3 separate regions of the Homo sapiens genome follow, and all the other regions are linked to region 3. The links are contacts of gene promoters, found by promoter capture Hi-C in blood cells and fetal thymus (Javierre and others, 2016). All regions are on one chromosome and are shown on one strand. Each heading gives the region's core, a stretch centred on a gene start or on the middle of the fragment in contact. The rest is flanking DNA. Distances are from core to core; before and after follow the strand shown.

Region 1 (3,633 bases), core at 911-3,410, 200 kb before region 3:
CAGACTCAGTTCTTGTTTAATTTTTCCTCCATTTTCCGTGGAGCCCACTTTAAACTTTTTCTACTTTCTTCACTTCTCCCCACCCTTTACAGAAGAGGTTGAGGCACTTAGCAGGAGCTCCTTCATTAAATTCCTTCTGTTACTGGCTTCTTAACCTTCCGTCAAAGAGGGAGAATTTTTTTTTTTTTTTTTGTCTTTCTTATTAGTTAACACCTTGGGGTTTTTTTCCTTTCCTTCTAATTTTCCTGCTTAGTGGAGCGTGAGTTATTTTCTCTGTCGTATTTGGGTTCTTTAAAGTACAAATGTTCTTAAGATTTTTTCAGTTTACAAAAACCTTTTCTTAAGTCTGCTACTCCTTCAAGCTGTCTTGTTGCTGCTTTTCCTTTTCAAATCTTATTAACATTTTAAAAAGCTTGTTCGTAATAAAAGTAACACATGGTTGTTAATTGCGAACTAGCGCAACATTGAAATTAAAATTTAGTCATTCACAATCCATCTCTAGAGATTGCCAAGTGTAGTCTGCTTTTCCTGCCTTTGCCTGGTTGGTGGCTAGCCACTCATTTCTTAACCCCTTGTTATCTGGATTTCACCTTCACAAGGAACTATAACCTAATCAACACATTTAACTACCTTTTTCTAAGTCCTCTCCTTGAGTTTTCTGTAAGATTTAACATCGACTTCACATTTTCAGATGCCTCTCCTTGGGTTTCATTCATCTATACTCGCTGTATTCTAACACAGGGTCCAAGGCAGTAAGATACAACAGATCCTTCCCTCATGGAGCTTAAAGTCTAGTGGGGAAATACTTATTGAAAAATAAAGTCTCTAGTTAAATATAATTGTGATTTTAATTAAGGTGCAGAATATTATAAGAACTTCAAATGGAGACCTGATCTGGTGCTTGTGGTGGTGGGAGAATCTGGGAAAGATACCTTAAAATTGCTTTGTTGGAACCCAGGCAGATTGTGAAGGATGAGCAAGAGTTAACTATTAACTAGATGAAGAGGGGCCTTTTGTGACATTATACTGACTTTGTTCCTCTCCGCCACTTTTCTGCCTTCTGTTTCTTCTTTCCTCTTTAATATGCGTTCTCCAAGTTTCACTTTTCAGATCACTTTTCTCTATGTCTCTAGTCCCTTAGAATGATTGTTCAGACCTTTCTGTTGGAATAATTCTCAATTCTTTGTTTATGTGTCTTCTGAATCACGTTTTTTTGTTTGTTTGTTTTGTTTTTTCTTTTTTATTCAGTTGCTTTCTACATATCTGTACCTGATTGTTCTGAGCTGCTTTTCCTTAGCAAACTTGCCTCTTTGGTGTTCTTTATTTTTGTTGATGTCATACCAAACCCAAACCTTTTCCCATTTCATCATATCTTGTCTGTAGCCAACATCTGTTGATTCTGCTTTATGATATTGTAACTCTTCTGCTCTCTATTCTTGCTAACTGTGGGGCAATTCTGAATTCATATTGGTGTGAAGGTAGTAGTCAAATCATAAAACGAGTTGGGCAGCTTTCCTTCTTTTTCTCTTTTTCAGGATCATTTTAGACTGGGATTATCTGTTCCTTGAAAGTTTGGAAGACCTCCCCTATGTGACCATTTAGGCCTAGATCTTTTTTCTGGAGAGGACTTTGAGTAACACTTCAATTTCTTTAATAGCTGTTGGTTTGTGTCGATTTTCTGATTCTCATATGAATTTTAATGTTTCACATTTTTTTCAGGAATTTATTTTCAAATCTAGTGTTATTTGGCTTTCACGTAGTTCTCCCCCCACCACCCCGCGACTCCACCCCCACCCCCTAACTCTAAATCAAGTTCTCATCCCACCTGGACTAATGTTATGATTTTCTTGCCTTCACTTTTCTCCTTTATCTAATCTTATGTATTTCTGCCTAAATTAATCTGTAAGCCCAGTTCTTACCACTTCGCCACTCAGAAGTTTCCTAGGTCTTCCATTAAATGAAATATTTTCTGTGGTATTTGCCTCAGATTTACCTGTTTTTTTTTTTTTTTTTTTTTAATACCTTATTGTTTTTTCTTTCTTTCTTTCTTTCTTTCTTTTTTTTTTTTTTTTTTTTTTTGATACAGAGTCTCGCACTGTCGCCTGGGCTGGAGTGCAATGGCGTGAGCTCAGCTCATTGCAACCTCTGCCTCCTGGGTTCAAGGGATTCTCCTGCCTCAGCCTCCCAGGTAGCTGGGACCACGCCTGGCTAATTTTTGTATTTTTAGTAGAGGTGGGGTTTTGCCATGTTGGCCAGGCTGGTCTTAAACTCCTGACCTCAGTTGATCCGCTCGCCTCAGCCTCCCTGTGCTGGGGTTACACAGGTGAGGCACTGTGGCTGGCCTTTATAGCAGTTTTTATACAAATATTAGTTTCACTACTAGTTTGCAGGGTGGGTCTGTAACGGACTTTTCTTGCATATTAAAAGGAATAAATGGGGAAAGGCTCCTGTCTAGCCTAACAGTAGCTGTTGAACTGTCCTGATCTGACTATTGGATCTTAGGAGCAGCGAACCATGGAGAGAAAGGAAAATGGGTTTCCTATCACACTAAATTTTGAAGTAGGAACCATTTCTTTTCCTTTTCTACTTTCCCACCTTTTACTAGTTTTTAGGCTTTAGGATGTCTTTTTAACATCACAAGGTCCATATTGACCAAGTTGGACCAACTTTTTAACACAAGATTAAATGTTGACTTGCATTGAGTTATGTCCATTGTAAGATACACAGTAGTGTTACAGACCACTTAAAATATGCTTCTAGTTGTAAGAAGCCATTGATTGTAAGGTGCACCCCAATTCCGGAGATGCTAAAATATGAAAAATGGATGCATCTTAGAATTGATGAATAGTGTTTCTCTCCCTAATCAAAGCTCTTGGATGTGCCTGGAAATCCCCAGTAGTGTTTTTTGAAAAGAACACTAGTTAGGGGCATAGGGAGATCAGATGATCAGTAGACTCCATCTCAGGGTGGCCCCTGTGGTCCCTAAGCCAGTTCGTATGGGCAGTTTAATATATAACTAATGAGTAGACATTGAATAGATGAGTAAATTATCTTTGAGTATCTTTTATTTACTCTGATGTTGTAGACTTTGTTACTCTTTTATAGTTTTATATTTCTGATGAGCCTTCCTTTCTTATGGCACAGATTTGTTATACTGTTAAAGTCTGGAACAGTGGAGCTTGGCTCTTGATCCAGCTGTATATAATTGGCTGTTGACTTATGAAGGAGGACAGGAGTATGCTAGAGATAGGGATAAAATATTATAATCACATTTGCAGTTAGGGAGATTAGTTACATGTTGGAAAATCATTTTGAAGAAAGGAAGACTGAAGATGTTCAAACTTGTAGGAAGGTCTTTCTGGCCTAGCCCGGATTAAACCCATTTATGCCTAGTGTTCCACTATTGGAACGCTAAGCACGTGGGAGTTATTTATATCCTGCTCAAGGTCATCACCAAGGTCTGATTGCAAAAATTCAAAAAATTGCAGCCTCAGGCATAAATGGGTTAAGATGGTGGCAGATAATTAGGGCCTGGAATGGATAGGAGGCGATAACTAGCGTGGATGAGAGAAGGAATGGGATTGGCAAGAACAACTCCTGGATTTCTAGCTTGGAAAGCAGGGTAGATGTGGG
Region 2 (3,205 bases), core at 199-2,698, 130 kb after region 3:
ACTCCAGCCATCAGTTAGGGTTTGTATAGAGGTTCCATTATGAGGGCATGACTGATTGCTGATTAAACTCAATCTTCAGCCCCTTTCCAATCTCCAGAGGTCAAAGGGTGGGACTGAAAGTTCCAAATTTCTAATTATGGCTTGGTCTTTTTGGTGACTAGTCCCCACCTTGAAGCTACCCAGAAGCCCATTAAGAGTGTCCTAGTTAGAACAAAAGATGCTCCTATCACTCAGGAATTTGCGACATTCAGGAGCTCTGTGTTGGGAACCAGGCAAAGAGACCAAATATATTTACTGTCACAAGCCCTTATTTCTCATTATTTACAAATGTAGTTTGTCCTCATGACCCCCTTACACACAGTTCCACTTCCTGCCTTGGGTGAAGCCACCCCCTCTTTATCTGAAATGGCCTTATCCAACTCCTATCCAGCCTTCTCTGTTCCCACATCAAGACTGTCTGTCTGCCAGGCACGGTGGCTCACGCCTGTAATCCCAGCACTTTAGGAGGCCGAGGTGGGCTGATCACATGAGGTCGGGAGTTCGAGACCAGCCTGACCAACATGGCAAAACCCTGTCTCTACTAAATATACAAAAATCAGCTAGGTGAGGTGGTGCATGCCTGTAATCCCAGCTACTTGGTAGGCTGAGGCAGGAAAATTGCTTGAACCTGGTAAGCAGAGGTTGTAGTGAGCCAAGATCGCGCCACTGTATGCCAGCCTGGGCAACAAGAGCAAAACTCTGTTTCAAAAAAAAAACAAACAAAAAAACAAATAAACAAACAAGATTGTCCTTGGTTTCCTTGAACTCCTACTGCAACAACACATGATTTACTTTGTTTTGTTTTTTTTTTTGTCATTTATTGACTGGTTCTAGGAAAGGAAAATGTAGAAATGGAATACTGAGCTTATAGCAAAACAAAAAAGACATAGGGTACAAAGGAGATTTGAATCTGCTCTACTTGGGAGAAATCAATGAAAAAAAATATTCCAAGAAATAAAAAAATTCAACTTTGTTTTTTTAAAAGAACCCTCTGCATAAAGTTCAGAGATCTTGCCTGCAGGAACAAAAAACACATAATAGAAAAATTGATTTACTTAGAATATAGACTATAGTTCATAATAAAAGCAGTCCTTATTTGGTAAACCTTCAATACGAGTACATCACCCTTGGTTATTTCTTTGCTCTTTCTCTCTTGGCATAAAAGAAAAAAAAAATTCATGCAAAATCCTACTAAGGCCCAATATGTACAAAATATCTTTTAAAAGTCCTATGTTGATATATTTGTGATAATGACAAACGATAAAAGAAGTCATACTACTGACAACCTTTGAAATTTTCATTTGTCATCTTTCACATTTTCCTCTAGCCTAGAAGCAAATCAGAAGAATTACGTCTGATAGACTTTCTCCAAGAATAATAATCAAGAGAAATAGCAATTCATAATAAACAAAGCATTTTCTTAGTTTTTAATGAAGAAAACTAAGAAAGTAATTTCAAAATTATTCAATAGAAAATCTTTAAAGATAAATGGACTACACACTGGTAGAGAAATGAGTTGTTCTGGCTAACACATTAATCTCTTAAACACCAAAGTCTTCAAACCTCTTTTGATGGAAAACTGTTTAAAATGTTATTTCAGGTCTTCGGAGTTGGGTGTAGGGGAAAAAGGTTATTTCATTTCCTTAGCAATTAGAATAAATGGACCTCTAGAGATATCATCTATGCTGAGTTTTATATGCAAAGCTGTTTGAATATGTATTTTTCTAGGAAGAAGGTAGGTCTTCTAATAGCTTTTAACAGAAATTTCAAAGGTATCTATGATCCAAAGTATTAGGAAGCATTGTGTCAATGGCATGAAGTGGTTCTCAATCAGCGCTTACAATTAAAAGCCTAAGATACAATTTGTAACTTTTTGCATAAATAAATCCCAGACAACAATGATTAAGGTGGGTGCTGGAATCAGATGCCCAGAATCTGAACCTCAACTCCACTACGTACTAGCTGTGTCACCCTGCCAAAGGACACTTCACTCCTCAACCTTAGTAGCCACATTTGGAAATCAGGGACAACAGTGTATTGCATGAGGCATAAAAGCAATGATACATGAAAAGTTCTTACATGCATTGTTGCTATAAGGCATAGAACTGATGATGCATGAAAAGTTCTTAATAAAATGCCTGGCACACACAGAGCTGAATAAATGTTAGCCTTTGCTAATATCTGACCTTGGTGAAGGCAGTTGACCTCAAGTGAAGGCAGAATGTGTGTGGCTGCAGAATCTTCTAGGTGTAGTTGCCTTTTTGTAAAGATAATCGGAAGGTCTTGAGTAGCTCCTTCTCCTAGTTTGTCTTCTTGTCCTTAATAAAGCCTTTCCTGCCTTTAACAGTAGTATTTCACATATTAACAATTCCGACTTGATAGTGAACACTTGAATCTGTATTAATTTCTGCCTCTGGAAAGGGGAAAATATTGATTCATTTGAATAACTAGTCAGTTTTAGACAGCGGCATTAGATTTAAGACTGTTCATGGTTATATTGGGGGAAGGACTTGGGGTAGAGCTGCTTCACTTTTCATTTTGTAACTTTCGTTACTATTTGATTATGTGAATCATGCATGTGTATTTTATGGGTTGCTGAGTACAAAATTTATGGGCTATTTATGAATCAATGTGCTCTAAAGTGATACTAGAGATTTTTCTCTTTATTACTTACATTGTAAAAGCCTAATTATTGGGTAAAATAAATAGAAAAGAAGAACAGTCACGTGGCAGAGACTAGTGTCTAGGATTTTTTCAACATCTACAGGTTAGTATTTTAGTTTTTAATGGTTACAGAACCCTTAGTATTTTTAACATAAGTAAATAAAAACCGATTTTCCTAAGCACTCTGAATTATTAACAGCGGTAAACCTAATTTCTTCCCACTATATGCCAAAAGTTCAGGCTCAATTTTTATTTCTTGTACTTAAACACTACAAGTTGTACTGAACTTTAATATATATTGGTGCTTAGGATCCAATTTTTGATGCCCTAATTCTTACAAAGTATACTTTGGATAATGAGTGAGCAGCTGTTTGTCTTCCTGCACGTGGGGCTTTACTGCCAAAAGCAAACTTGCTAAATGGATTCATACACGCAAGTGACAGAAAGACTGAAATCTGATGTACAGATCACTACCATTACCAAGCGTCTTCATTTTCTAGTA
Region 3 (3,358 bases), core at 598-3,097:
TGTGGAGACTGCAGCTTCTGGATGTGGGAAGGAGAGCCCTGCAGGCAGGGGGCTTCCAGGCTTGGGACACCTGGGCATTCCTGGGCCAGGTACATGCACCCTCCCACTCAGAACCCCAGAGAAGGACTGCGGGGCCCCTGCAGGGCTGCCCATCAGCAGTTCCCAAACCCTCACTCCTTGGGGCTAAGGGAGCAATGTCTCTCCCACAACCAAGGGGGTGGGGAGGAAGAGGAGCAGCTCCCTCCTCCCTCCCGTCCACCGGGTCCTCTCATCCTCCCTTTCATCAAAAGGCGGAAGGTGGCCTGAGACTAAGGCGTGGAGCTTCCTTGGTCCTGAAATCAGAGCGGAGTGGCTGGATCCAGCCCGCCCCTCCCCCGCCCCCTGCTCCCCTTGCCGCCCCACCACCGAGAATCACCTGCACCTCCCAGCCCTGAGCAGAGTTGGGGGCAGGCGGGAATGAGGTTTCTCCATGGCCAACTGCTCAGCCACTGTTCCCCACGCCACTGCCACCAGACCCTCACTAAGGGGCCTCTTGCCCCTCCCTGGTCAAATCTGTTTTCAGGAAAGCACCCAACAAACCTGCAACTCAGAAGCCAAATGAGACCTATCCCAGGCAGGTCCGCTCTGCGATGGTGGCTCTCATACACCGCACAGAAGTGTAAGTTGGCCCCCCCCTCACTCCCTAAATCCATGTAGATGCCCTTAGCCAAACAGGTCTGGTGTGTGGGGGCAGGAGGGTGGAGGTAGGAGCATCTGGGGGCTGGGGCTGGCTCCAAGTGCTGCAGAGAGTTCACTATGAGCTCTGAAGTCAAACTCAGATCCTGCTCCTTAGCTGTGTGGCCTTGGGCAAGCCCCTCAGCCTCTCTGAGCCTCAGGCTCCTCCTCTGTAAGTGGGGCTGTTGGAGGGATGAACTGAGATACACGTGGCAAGGTGCCTGGCCCTGAGACTGGGGGCCCCGTAAACAGCACCTGCTGCTCTGACTGAGGGGCAGTTGGAGATGAGGGGGGACTTACAGGCCCAACACCTCATCAGCAGGATGGGCCCTGGCTCTGTACACATAGAATGTTGGAAAGCTATGTTCTGGGTCCAGTTGCAAGACCATCCTGCCCACTTGCTGGGTCGCTGAGGCAGAGCGCCCTGGACTGTGCTCTGGAGAGCAGGGGGCCGTCTCTGCTCACTGCTGGGCAGTCAGAGTCAGGTCCCCAGGGAACTCAGATCAAAATCTCAGGGCAGCCTTGCTGGGTCTCAGCTTTCAGAATTGATTTCTTTGGAAGAACAGGAGGCATAGCCAGGCCAGCTGGCAATGGCTTCAGCCACAGTCCCCCAGTGCCCCATGCTGGGTGATTGATGGTAGGAGCTGTGCCTCCCTGCCAGCCCCCCAAGCCCCATTCCCTGCCATGGCTCCGACAGGGAACTCCCTGCAATTCTTAGGTGGATCCTGAAACACCCAGTCCAGACTACTTTTTCAGCCTCACAGATGGCCCAGAGATAGATACTATTAGCCCATTTCACAGATGGGACCCCAGTGAGGTCTAGAGAGGCTCTGCTCTAGCTGAGCTGGGACTCAGATCCTACTCCATGACCTCTGCCAAGGTCCAGGCCCTCTTACCGTCCTACGGGGTCCTTGCCGGTGTCCTCAGCCTCTGCCTTCCAGACCCCAGGTGTCCTGGAGCTCTGCAGATCAGAGAGGCTAGTACTGGAAGCCTGGGCCCATGCCCCCAGCAGCCCCCAGCCCAGGGGGCCCCCAAGGCTGAACAGCAAGCTCAGGATCATCTTGGTGGTGGGGCAGGCTCAGCTCACACTCAGCCTTGGCAAGTAGCTCCAGAAACTGCTAGTGACGTTGTCTTCAAGTTAAATCTCAGGAGGAAAAGAAAATACGAGGACAACAAAGAGAGGAAGTGGCCTGGGCCGGCCTACCCGGTGGGTCTTGTCCTGCCCCCCAACTACCCTGGCTGGCCCCACAGGGGCCGCCAACCACACAAGCCAGTTCCTGTCCCTGAGGACTTGGCTCAGGGACTCTGGGAATGTGGTAGACATGGGGTGGCCCCACCAAATGCATCCTTATGGGAACCTGCTCCCTGGGAGCCATGAAAAGAGCGTGGACTTCGAGGTGGGGCCACAGGAAGTGGTCAGGTCCATCTCAGGGGACCTGCTGCCCATCCACACTGCTGGCCAGGAAATGGGGGGCAATTCATGCCTCCTCAGCACCTTCAGCACTGGGCGGCTCAAAGAAGGGAAGGGACTATTCTGGGGTCACACAGCATGCAGCCAGAGGCCAAGGCATGAGGAAGTCCTTCATTTCCCCACCCCCACCCACCTCAGATCCTCCAACCGGTTTCATGGCAGCCCAGGGTCCAGCGGCATCCAGGATGCTGGTGGGTAGCTGCACAGCCCAGGCCGCGGGAGGTTGGCTGCTCTCACCTAACAGGCCTATGTGGCCCTGACCCCTACCTAGGAAGCTGGGGACAATGGCCAAGGCGCCTCCCCTCTCTGTGCCTGTCTGTCCAGGTGCAGCATAGACACAGCACCCCTGGGGCCAAGAGCACCCAGCCAGGGCTGCCCCCATGGGTGGGCAGGGCAGTAAATGAATGAGGGACAGGTTGGGAGGTGGCCAGCCCCCTCCAGCCCATGGAGGGCACGGGGCAGGAGAGCTGGGCTGAGCCAGCAGGAGCCCAGGGAGCCTGGTCTCTGCCTTCCTATCCTGGAGGAAGGTGAGGCTGAACCTCCTTCCCTCCCTCCCTCCCTCCCCGCCCCCACTGCACGCAGGGCTGGCTGGGCTCCAGCTGGCCTCCGCATCAATATTTCATCGGCGTCAATAGGAGGCATCGGGGACAGCCGCTGCGGCAGCACTCGAGCCAGCTCAAGCCCGCAGCTCGCAGGGAGATCCAGCTCCGTCCTGCCTGCAGCAGCACAACCCTGCACACCCACCATGGATGTCTTCAAGAAGGGCTTCTCCATCGCCAAGGAGGGCGTGGTGGGTGCGGTGGAAAAGACCAAGCAGGGGGTGACGGAAGCAGCTGAGAAGACCAAGGAGGGGGTCATGTATGTGGGTAAGTGGGGCATGGCAGGGTGGGACAGTGTGGTGGCCAAAGGGTGAGTGCCCAGTTACCTTCGCCAGACCTTACTCCCCAGCCCCAGGGAGGCATTTTGGGAGGGGGCGAGGCCCTGGCTATCAAGGTGGGGTCTCCAGACCCTGGAGCACCCACAATGCCCTGTGCACACCTATGTGTGTTTGTCTTTGGCCTCCTCGGGGCCTCTGGGTGTCAGAGACCGCAGACAGGGCTGGCTACCTGTCTGTGCACGCACACACACATTCCCAAGCATACCAGCCTCCCCTGAGCCTGGAGCCCCTGAAGC

Evidence for each region. The method cuts DNA at HindIII sites, captures the fragments that hold promoters and counts their contacts. A CHiCAGO score of 5 or more calls a contact.
Region 1: a contact is called between a fragment that was not itself captured here and the fragment with the promoter of MMRN2 in region 3, in 4 of 17 cell types (naive CD4 T cells, non-activated CD4 T cells, total CD8 T cells and 1 more). The highest score is 5.9, in naive CD4 T cells.
Region 2: a fragment that was not itself captured here is called in contact with the fragment with the promoter of MMRN2 in region 3 in 1 of 17 cell types (M0 macrophages); the score reaches 5.8 in M0 macrophages.

What each region holds. Positions count from the first base shown.
Region 1 is chr10:86,758,193-86,761,825 of GRCh38, forward strand. The region is part of intron 1 of BMPR1A (bone morphogenetic protein receptor type 1A); the gene reads left to right. Among named protein-coding and RNA genes, the nearest start is that of BMPR1A, 3.4 kb to the left of the region's middle. The HindIII fragment of the contact is 3,501 bases long and covers 411-3,633 here.
Region 2 is chr10:87,087,337-87,090,541 of GRCh38, forward strand. All of the region lies in intron 1 of GLUD1 (glutamate dehydrogenase 1), which reads right to left. Among named protein-coding and RNA genes, the nearest start is that of GLUD1, 5.9 kb to the right of the region's middle. The HindIII fragment of the contact is 6,569 bases long and covers 1-3,205 here.
Region 3 is chr10:86,955,768-86,959,125 of GRCh38, forward strand. It overlaps MMRN2 (multimerin 2), which reads right to left and starts at 1,848. Exons shown (of 7, transcript NM_024756.3): 1 at 1,611-1,848. The coding sequence starts at 1,774. It overlaps SNCG (synuclein gamma), which reads left to right and starts at 2,832. Exons shown (of 5, transcript NM_003087.3): 1 at 2,832-3,051. The coding sequence starts at 2,931. RefSeq lists enhancers at 1-119, 3,122-3,358. The HindIII fragment of the contact is 12,184 bases long and covers 1-3,358 here.